Linked DNA regions of Homo sapiens: region 1 is linked to region 2. Evidence: promoter capture Hi-C in 16 types of primary human blood cells and fetal thymus (Javierre and others, 2016). All regions are on one chromosome and are shown on one strand. The core of a region is centred on a gene start or on the middle of the fragment in contact, and the rest is flanking DNA. Distances in the headings are between cores, read along the strand shown.

The links. The method cuts DNA at HindIII sites, captures the fragments that hold promoters and counts their contacts. A CHiCAGO score of 5 or more calls a contact.
Region 1: a contact is called between a fragment that was not itself captured here and the fragment with the promoter of APOF in region 2, in 2 of 17 cell types (erythroblasts and M2 macrophages). The highest score is 5.6, in erythroblasts.

The regions. Positions count from the first base shown.
Region 1 is chr12:56,609,867-56,615,133 of GRCh38, reverse strand. BAZ2A (bromodomain adjacent to zinc finger domain 2A) reads left to right here. Exons shown (of 29, transcript NM_001300905.2): 3 at 1-120; 4 at 996-1,181; 5 at 1,901-2,119; 6 at 2,888-3,361; 7 at 3,501-3,561; 8 at 4,617-4,725; 9 at 4,919-5,020; 10 at 5,188-5,267. Among named protein-coding and RNA genes, the nearest start is that of BAZ2A, 18 kb to the left of the region's middle. The HindIII fragment of the contact is 1,811 bases long and covers 2,659-4,469 here.
Region 2 is chr12:56,361,595-56,367,141 of GRCh38, reverse strand. APOF (apolipoprotein F) reads left to right here and starts at 4,285. Exons shown (of 2, transcript NM_001638.4): 1 at 4,285-4,412; 2 at 4,953-5,547. The coding sequence starts at 4,397. The HindIII fragment of the contact is 6,609 bases long and covers 1-4,546 here.

The sequences.
Region 1 (5,267 bases), core at 2,315-4,814, 250 kb before region 2:
CCCAGGAGGTAGGCAGTGGTATCCATCCTGATGAGGCAGCAGAAAAGGAGATGACTTCAGTTGTGGCAGAGAATGGCACTGGCTTGGTAGGCAGCTTGGAGCTGGAAGAAGAGCAGCCAGGTATAACTGGGTTGGTGAACTGGGTGGGGAAAGGAAAAATGGAGCTCGGGGGGGATAGTGGCTTTTTGAGGTGAGAAAAACTTGTCTTTCCAGCTCTCTGCAGTGGAGGCTGATTTGCATGTTGGTGATTAGCAATTAGCAGAGCCAAGTGGCTGGTGTTTTTGTGGCAGCAGCACCAGCTCGCGAGTGGGAGTGCAAATTATTTCAAGCTCATGCAGAGCTTCTGGCCTGGAGAGGGCAGGTGGGCGAGCCCGAAACAGCCCCAACAGACACCCTGCATCAAGAAAGGCTTCTTTCAAAATATACGGAGTGGTTAGGGTCTAGCAGCGGGCATTGAGGCTGTTTTAACTGACTGTGGCAGGATCAGACTGGCTGTTAAAGTCGTCTGAGCCCAATGTAGTGATTGGCATGCGAAGGAGGGAAGGAAGCAGGCAGAGCATATCATTATTTGTCTACTCAGTTTCCTTTTTTTTGTTGTTTAGCATTAGTACACGTGACAGCCCCTCTCATCTTTTCCCTCAAAATAGATAAAAGCTTAGCTTCCAGTTGATTCCTGGTACAAGGGTAACCACCACTCTGTAAAATTACAGGATGTTTTCTCGTTTCCCAATGGATGGAGGAGATATCTGAGAACATGATAGAGATGTTGTATCAGACCCCACTCTCTTTTCCTCTCTTTGCCTGCTGTAGGATTGATTTTACCAGCACATCTCTGCTCAGAGTATCTTGATGTGATCGGTTCCCAGCAATGAACTGGCCGCAATAAATGTTGAATGAATGAACATCCTTCTAGCAAAGATTGACTGCCTAGTATAGCTAAGTGAACCAATATAAGGCACTGATTTTGACTTTTGGTCTCTCCTGTGATTTCCTAGAACTGAAGATGTGTGGCTACAATGGCTCTGTCCCTTCTGTGGAATCGTTACACCAAGAGGTCTCAGTCCTGGTCCCTGACCCCACAGTGAGCTGTTTAGATGATCCTTCACATCTTCCTGATCAACTGGAAGACACTCCAATCCTCAGTGAAGACTCTCTGGAGCCCTTCAACTCTCTGGCACCAGGTAGGTTTGGAGGCTATGTCCCTTTAACTTATCCATGCAGAGTAGCCAAACTTTACCTGAAAGAGACAGTAAAATGGGAAAAGTATTAGGCAATCAGGGGCACTGGGGCTTCCAGGTAGGCCTAAGGCAGACCACAGTTACATGCCACAGGACTTGGTGCCCTAACTGAATTCTGAGCTGAATTGGTTCATGTCCCAGGTTCTTTCCCAGTATTCCTTTTGGCCAAGAGCTCTGGGCTGTAATAATTCACTGGGTAGGGACTTATTATCACACAGTTGATCTTTCTGGGTTCTGACAAACTAGGAAGAAAACATTTGTCAGTGAGCAGTTACCTTTTACTCCACTGAAGTACAAGAAAGACATATTTTATGATAAATCCTAGAATTTTGCATAGGTCTCTGGGTAGATAATACCACCAATGCCTTTCCTTTCATTTTCACCTTGTAGAGATGAGGTCTTGCTATGTTGTCCAGGCTGGTCTTGAACTCTGGCCTCAAGCAATTCTTCTGCCTCGGCCTCCCCTCAAACTTTTATGATCCCTATAATCTCATGACTACTCTTTCAGGGAGAAGGCTTTACTTGTTACCTAACTTAATATTAGGAAGAATCTTCACATTGTGGGAACTAGAATTGGATGTTTTCTGACCAGTGTTTCTTAAATCTTGCTTTCTGATTTTTTTCTCATTATCCTGCTCTGATTTTTCTACCCTTGTAAACAGAGCCAGTGAGTGGAGGACTATATGGTATTGATGACACGGAGCTGATGGGTGCAGAGGACAAGCTGCCTCTTGAGGACAGCCCTGTGATTTCTGCCCTTGATTGCCCTTCCCTCAATAATGCTACTGCCTTCAGTCTCCTGGCAGATGATAGTCAAACATCAACCTCTATCTTTGCCAGTCCCACCTCTCCACCTGTCCTAGGGGAGTCTGTCCTGCAAGGTAAGTGACGGTAGGTAGGACAAAGAAAGACCTTTACCTGAGAAAAGATGAGAGAATAAGTTTCATAGTTAGGGCCTTAAGAGTGGGAAATCTGGCTGGGCGCAGTGGCTCACGCCTGTAATCTCAGCACTTCGGGAGGCCGAGGCGGGTGGATCACCTGAGATCAGGAGTTTGAGACCACCTGGCCAACATGGTGAAACCCCGCCTCTACTAAAAATACAAAAATTAGCCAGGTGTGTTGGCACATGCCTGTAATCCCAGCTACCTGGGAGGCTGAGGCAGGAGAATCGCTTGGCCCCAGGAGGCAGAGGTTGCAGTGAGCCGAGATTGTGTCGTTGCACTCCAACCTGGGCAACAGAGCAAGACTCCATCTCAAAAAAAAAGTAGGAAAGCAAGAGCACCTTGCTGGGAGCTGAGGGGCTATGGGATAGTGTATGGTGGAACTAAAAGAGGTATAGGCTGCTATACTCCGACCTGTGCCCTCTGCTTTGAAGAACTTGTGAGACTTGGAATTTGTAGGGAGAAGGAGGCTAGAAGCTTTATTGGCACCAGGTAAAAGGTATTTCTTCACACAATGACATCTGTAGCAACTTTACCCTTTAATCCTCATGATTGGTTGGGAGAAAAAGCTACTTCTTTTTCCAACCCTAGGGAAGACCCCTTGAAGTAACCCTGTTTAGCTTGGTCCAGGGTTGACTGAGTAGATTCTCTTGTTTTATGTGATGCCTTTTTTTTTTTTAAAGCCTATCCTGTCCCTTTGGATTCTAGATAACAGCTTTGACCTGAATAATGGTAGTGACGCTGAACAGGAAGAAATGGAAACTCAATCTTCAGACTTCCCACCATCCCTGACCCAGCCAGCTCCTGATCAGTCATCCACTATTCAGCTACATCCAGCAACCTCACCAGCAGTCTCGCCAACAACCTCCCCAGCAGTCTCCCTAGTGGTTTCTCCAGCAGCCTCCCCAGAAATCTCTCCAGAAGTTTGTCCCGCAGCTTCTACAGTTGTCTCTCCAGCAGTCTTCTCAGTGGTCTCTCCAGCTTCCTCAGCAGTCCTCCCAGCAGTCTCCTTAGAAGTCCCGTTGACGGCTTCAGTGACATCCCCAAAAGCCTCTCCCGTAACTTCCCCAGCAGCTGCCTTTCCAACAGCCTCCCCAGCAAATAAGGATGTCAGCAGCTTTCTAGAAACCACTGCTGACGTGGAAGAGATCACTGGAGAAGGACTCACTGCTTCTGGTAGTGGTGAGTATCCAGATTCTATTCTATCCCTGTCTGGTTCCAAGAAACTTTTCTGTCCCATGTTGTAGTTAGCCTTTCCCTATTGGCCTATTGTTTAAATATTTTGCTTGAACTCTTAACTTGGGTATCCCTTCCTCCCAAGGTGATGTCATGAGGAGACGTATTGCTACCCCAGAAGAAGTTCGTCTTCCCCTCCAACATGGGTAAATGCTCTAGTTTGCTACATTTATTGACCTTGACAAGTTTAATGCACAACTCTAGAAAGAAGGGAATGCCTCTTTTCCTCTGAGGTGGGGGAGGAATGGGCCAGACAAGAGTAGATTACAGGACAGTTATCTGCAGTGATAATGTTTCTTGGCATGAGATTCCTAGGTTTTCCTTCTTCTCTCAAGGTCTGTCTTCCATCACCTATTCTTTTTTCATCTTGTAGTGACTCAATTTTGCCCAAGGAGCTCCAGCTATTATCTTTTCCAAACCCTAGGGCTCACATCCAAACCAGCTGGCTTGTCCTATTTCTGTGGACAAGGGATAGTAATGAATGAGGAGTGACTTAGTACTAATGAATTGAGGTGGTTTTGTTGTTTTAATGCTCTTAGGAGAGGTAAGGGCAGGAACAGTACATGACCAAAATGAACAAACTAGCTGACACCAGGGCCTTGTGGAAATAACTGCCTTCCTGGATCTTCCCCACCCCTGCCCCTCAAGGCTACTTGTGGTCACCAAGTCTGAGTACTGCTTAAAATTTTGAGAGAAAGATTAGAGTTAGTCTTAGAACTAACTCTGACTAACTTTGTGTTCTGCTCAGAACACAGAGTTCCTAACTAAACCCTGGCATATTGAGTCTTTTCATGGAATCAGCAGCAAATTTATTTTTCTGCTTGCCTCCCTGCCCTTTGTCTTCTGTCTTTATTCCCCTTAGGTCTTTATCCTCTTTACTGGAAATCCAGTAACTGCCCTGAATGGCTCAGGGAGGGGTTTCTGGCAGCTTATCTCACTGATTTTGTAAAGGAGGGATGGAGATCTCTCTGAGCTTGTGCAGTTTGGTGTAGTGCTTTTCTCCTAAGGGCCTTGATGTATTTGCTGGAGCTCAAGTCAGCCTTCTAGCCAAGCTTATCTCTCTTGGTGCTTTTGCATCTGCATGCAGTTCTAGAGATACAAATGTGGGGAGGGCCATCTGCTCAGAGGGCTTCGCGCTTAGGTGGCATGGGAGTGGGTAGGGGTGTGACCTGGCGGCAGGGCCCATGTGCTTCTCTGGCAGGTGGCGGAGAGAGGTGCGCATCAAGAAGGGCAGCCACCGATGGCAGGGGGAGACCTGGTATTATGGCCCCTGTGGGAAGAGGATGAAGCAATTTCCAGAAGTGATCAAGGTAATGTAGCTTTTTTTAAAGGACTGCTTTCTTGGGCTCAGTGGACTCCTTTCCACTGCCCAAGACTCCGTTCTTGGGCTCAGTGACAACAGGCTGGCATTGTCTGCTCTGGGCCTGTTCTGCTTATGCCTTTGCTGGCCAAAGACATGGTAGGATCCAACTTTATTAATGTTACTTTACTTCTTCCTCTTAGTACCTGAGCCGCAACGTGGTACACAGTGTCCGCCGAGAGCACTTCAGCTTCAGTCCCCGTATGCCTGTTGGAGATTTCTTTGAAGAAAGAGACACGCCAGAGGTGCAGACCCAAGGGTTAAATATGCTTTTGTCCCTGAGGAAGAGTTGGTGGACAAGCTGCAGCTTCCTCTCGTGGGGTTTGAAGGTTCTGGGGCATTGAATGGTTCCGAGGGCCTCGTGGCCTGCACTGATTCCTTACTACTGTAACAGTCTCCCTTGCTACCTTAGGGCTTGCAGTGGGTGCAGCTCTCAGCAGAGGAGATCCCGTCGAGGATTCAGGCAATTACTGGCAAACGGGGTCGACCTCG
Region 2 (5,547 bases), core at 3,036-5,535:
GCCCAGGAGCTCGAGACCAGCCTGGCCAACATAGTGAGTTCCCTTCTCTACAAGAAAATTTTAAAAATTAGCCAGGTGTGGTGGTACGTGCCTGAAGTCCCAGATATATAGGAGTCCGAGGTGGGAGGATTGCTGGAGCTTGGGAGTTCAAGGCTGCAGTGAGCTGTGATTGTACCAACTGCACTCCAGCCTGGTATACGTGTATGTGTGTGTACGTATATTTTATCCATGTAGGTATATGTATATATATTGTCTTAGGGATTCCCCAGGGGTTTGGGGTCTAGTAATTTCAGACAGTGTTGGACTCCTTTCCACTTAGTTCTTGCTGTTTCTAAGTTGGCACTGTGTCCCTGGAGACTTACTCCTCTGCTTCTGTCTTTGCTCTTAGTTGTCAGGGGCCACTCCTGGGAACTGAAAGAACCGAAAAAAATAGAGGGAGGGACCCTGGACCCTGCCATTGGCCTAGTCCCTTTGGCCATGTGCCTGAGGTGAGTGACATCAGAGGAAACTTTAGGCCATAATGATATGTAGGAACTGGTACCATTTTTAGGAGGCATCAGATGTCTTATTTCCCTAATTTTTGGACTAATGTTACCCCTAAACCCAAGATAAAGCCTAATTCCTGGAGTTTTGGTTAGATTTGGAAAGTTACTGCTCAGCTGATGGACATGTTTTATTTGTGTTTTGCATTGGAATTAGAAAAGTGAAAAATAAACCAGGTGCAGTGGTTCATGCCTCTAATCACAGCACTTTGGGAGGCTGAGGTGGGAGGACTGCTTGAGACCAAGAGTTCAAGACCAGTCTGGGAAACATAGTGAAACCTCATCTCTACAAAAAAAAAAAAAAAAAATTTTAGCTAGGCATGGTGGTGCACACCAGTAGTCACAGCTACTTGAGAAGCTGAGGCAGGAGGATCTTTTGAACCCAGGAGTTAAACGCTGTGGTGAGCCATGATCAGGCCACTGTACTCCAGCCAGGGAGATAGAGCAATACCTGGACTGGACTCTAAAAAAGAAAAAAAAAGTTGCTCTGATTTTGTCTTATTTGTCAATCTGTCCAGTTTCCCTGGACTCCCATCCAGTATATTCTCTTTTTCAGACAAAGTCTCGCTCTGTCACCCAGTCTGGATGGTGCAGTGGTGTAATCATGGCTCACTGCAGCCTTGACCTCCCCAGGTTCAGGTGATCCTCCCACCTCAGCCTCCCCAGTAGCTGGGACTACAGGTGCATGCCACCACTCCTGGCTAATTTTTATAATTTTTGTAGAGACGGGGCTTTCGCCATGTTGCCTAGGCTGGTCTCAAACTTCTGGGCTCAAGCCATCTGCCTGCCTTGGCTTCCCAACCAATATATTCTTTTAATAAGAAAAATGGTGACCAGGCGCTGTGGCTGGCTCAAGCCTGTAATCCCAGCACTTTGGGAGGCCAAGGTGGGCAGATCACCTTAGGTCAGGGGTTCAAGATCAGCCTGGCCAACATGAAGAAACCCCGTCTCTACCAAAAATACAAAATTAGCCGGGAATGGTGGCACACGCCTGTAATCCCAGCTACTTGGGAGGCTGAGGCAGGAGAATCACTTGAACCTGGGAGGCGGAGGTTGCAGTGAGCTGAGATCGCGCCATTGCACTCCAGCCTGGTCAACAAGAGCGAAACTCCGTCTCAGAAAAAAAAAGAAAAGAAAAATGGTTTAGGGGTCCCAGAGATCACCAGCTATTCTGCCTTACCCTTTCTCCCCTCAAGAAGATACGGAGGACCTTTTCCTCAGCTCAAATATAGGTTTAGGGTAAAACCTTAGGATAGAAAAGATATGTCACTGGGTGCCGTGGCTCACGCCTGTAATCCCAACACTTTGGGAGGCCGAGGCAGGCAGATCATTCGAGGTCAGGAGTTTGAGACCAGCCTGACTGACATGGTGAAACTCCATCTCTACTAAAAATACAAAAACATTAGCTAGGCGTGGTGGCGCACACCTGTAGTCCCAGCTACTCGGGAGGCTGAGGCAAGAGAATCTCTTGAACCTGGGAAGTGGAGGTTGCAGTGAGCCAAGATCACGCCATTGCATTCCAGCCTGAGCAACAGAGTGAGACTGTCTCCAGAAAACAAAACAAAACAAAAATTTGCCAGGCATGGTGGTGCGTGCCTGTAATCCCAACTACTAGGGAGACTGAGACACAAGAATCGCTTGAACCCGGGATGTGGAGGTTGCAGTGAGCTGTGATCGTGCCACTGCACTCTACCCTGGGCAACAGAGTGAGACTGTGTCTCCAGAAAAAAAAAGGAAAAGAAAAAGAAAAAGAAAAAAAAAAAAAGATATGGGACAGGACTGCAGGGCCTAAAAGGGGAAAGGTCAGTTTGTCAGTATGGGTCAAAGGTGAGAAGGACAAAGTCTGGGCTGGGAAGAGATGCATAAATATTTGCAAATGTTTTGTCCTTCACTGTTTTGGAAGCCATCAACTTTCTGGTTTCCTTGTGATTCTGGGAAAGGGCAGATTAAAAACAGCAACAACAACAATAATAGTAATTCAGGTCATGAAGATACCAAAGCAAATGAGATGTTTGGACTGTTTTTTTCCTCTGACTTGTTTCTCCTCAAAATAGGAGGATCACCCACATCCTTTAAGAGTGAAGATGAGGTGTGCTCAGGGCAACCGAAGTTTCCAAGAGCTAAGACACTTTCTAGCTCTGGCCAGTCTTGGTGTCTCTTTGTCCTGAGCCTTTCTCCACTTCCCAACCTGAGCACTGCTTCCTTCCAGCAGGGCTGCTCTGCTGTCCCCCCATGGTCCAAGCTGTGCTGCTGCTTTGCTGTGTCCTGCTGTCCCTGGTGTCTGCCTTTCCAAGAAATGCTCAGAATGAGACTCTGACCCTCCAGCCATCTTTAACAGAGACTGGGCATCCATCAAACATGCTCTCCATTATTTGGAGAACATGGAGAGCCAGATTCCTCTCCCAGATCCCAGGATCTGCCAAGATCTCTTACACACAGCCCCCTCCCTAGCCCCTCTGCCTGAGTACCTGTCCAACTTAGCTCTGAGGGTGCCCTTGGAGGAGGTGGGCTGCCCAACTGAGGCCCATGTTCTGCAGTTTCAGATGCGAGGAAAGGATACCACTGAAACCCTCATCCGTGAGAGTCAAAAAGTTCAATGGGGAGGAAGGCAATACCAACATCATTGTGACGAATCTAGTAGTCCCTTAGGGAAGTGTGAATAAACCCAGCACCCAGCTGCCCATCCTGGGAAATGTATGGATGGTGGCAAATATACCCACTGGGGTAGCTGGCCTACCAGGTAGCTCAGATGGTGATTGAGTTTGCTGAGAAACCATCTCCCATGATGCTTGGTGTCACAGTTCAAAGTTTTGGGTGTCCACATCACCAAGAACTGCAGGTATGAGTCTTGGGAGCATATTGAAGAATTAGGCAAAAAGTTGAAGAAGCTCTCAAGATCATTTAAATTGTCCATGGACAGTGACAATATAATCTATCAAATGTTCCACAGCTATTCTGAAGTGCTTTGTGAGGAAAATGATCCAGGAATTGATCCCGGCTCATTTCAGCTATTCAATATCACATAAGTAATGAGTCTCCTTTCCCAGGACTGTATTCAAGGATGGCACACAGTAAGTAGTTAGAAATGTTGGAGACCACTTAGGACAGATGAATGCTCTTTATTTCACCTCTTCCCTTAAACACATATGTGACCAGTGTTAGCCTTGCCCCTCTCCACTTAGTAGGTGTCAGCTCCCCTCCTTTTTTTTTTTTAAGACGGAGTCTCACTCTGTCACCCAGGCTGGAGTGCAGTAGTGCGATCTTGGCTTACTGCAACCTCCACCTCCCGGGTTCAAGCAATTCTCCTGCCTCAGCCTCCTGAGTAGCTGGGACTACAGACGCCCACCACCACGCCTGGGTGTATATATATATATATATATATATATATTTTTTTTTTTTTAGTAGAGACAGGGTTTCACCATATTGGCCAGGCTGGTCTCGAACTCCTGACCTTGTGATCCGCCCGCCTTGGCCTCCCAAAGTGCTGGGATTACAGGCGTGAGCCACCATGCTCAGCCGCTAATTTAATTTTTAAAATGAAGAGAAATGAGAGTATCACAAACATCTCATCTTTCCTAATTCTGAATTTCCCTGGCTCCTATCATGAGCTTAGAGTGGGAATGTGGCAGGGACATACAGGAAATGCCAAAGAACAGGACTGTAGGCATAGAGGTTGAGTGTGTGACAAGGGGCACAAGGTTTGAGCAGCCAGTATAAATGGGCAAATATTTGCAGAGATTACATCCTTCACTGATCATAGGGGAAAGCAAATATCTCCTTTCCTCATGGGACACAGAACTAGGCAGAACAGGATCAGGAAGCGATCAAACCTACCAAGGCAGTCTCACTTCTCAATGACTGGACTGTGTGGTAATTTGGGGTCCCTATATATGGGTGGAAATAAAACAGAAGTCCCTGGTGACCTGTAAATGGGGGAGACCAAGTGGGAGCAACTGGGGTGCATTTCCTATTTCCTAGGCCTTTACCTAAAAAGAACAGAAGCTTGGGGCCAGGCGCGGTGGCTCACATCTGGAAGCCTATCACTTTGGGAGGCGGAGGTGGAAGGATCACTTGAGCCCAAAGTTCAGAACTAGGCTGGGCCAGATGGCAAAACCACGTCTCTACAAAAAATTTAAAAATTAGCTGGGCATGGTGTCACGCACCTGTAGTCCCAGCTGCTTGGGAGGCTGAGGCAGGAGGATCCCTCGAGCCCAGGAATTCAAGGCAGCAGTGATTTGTGATCCCATCACTGCACTCTAGTCTGGGCAACAGAGCAAGACCCTGTCTCTAAAAAGAAAGTACAAAAGCTTGGAAGCAGGTGATGTATGAGGTGTCCCCCTAACTGAGTCTTGGGCTCACCATCGCCCTTAGGGAAATGGTTTGTATGTTTCGGATTTCTCCCCTTTCTAGGGTACTCTGCTCCAGACATGCGTGGCCTCAGACTCATCATGATACCAGTTGAGCTGCTACTTTGCTACCTCCTGCTGCACCCTGTGGATGCCACTTCATATGGAAAGCAGACAAATGTCTTGATGCACTTTCCCTTGTCCTTGGAATCCCAGACACCCTCCTCAGACCCCTTGTCCTGCCAATTTCTGCACCCAAAGTCACTGCCTGGTTTCAGCCACATGGCCCCTCTACCCAAGTTCTTGGTAAGCCTGGCTCTAAGGAATGCCCTGGAGGAAGCTGGTTGTCAGGCTGATGTTTGGGCTCTACAGCTACAGCTCTACCGCCAGGGTGGTGTGAATGCTACACAGGTCCTCATCCAGCATCTTCGAGGGCTCCAGAAAGGCAGAAGCACAGAGAGGAACGTGTCAGTGGAAGCCCTGGCCTCTGCTCTGCAGCTGTTAGCCAGGGAGCAGCAAAGCACAGGAAGGGTCGGGCGCTCCCTCCCGACAGAGGACTGTGAGAATGAGAAGGAGCAAGCTGTGCACAATGTAGTCCAGCTGCTGCCAGGAGTGGGAACCTTCTACAACCTGGGCACAGCTTTGTATTATGCTACTCA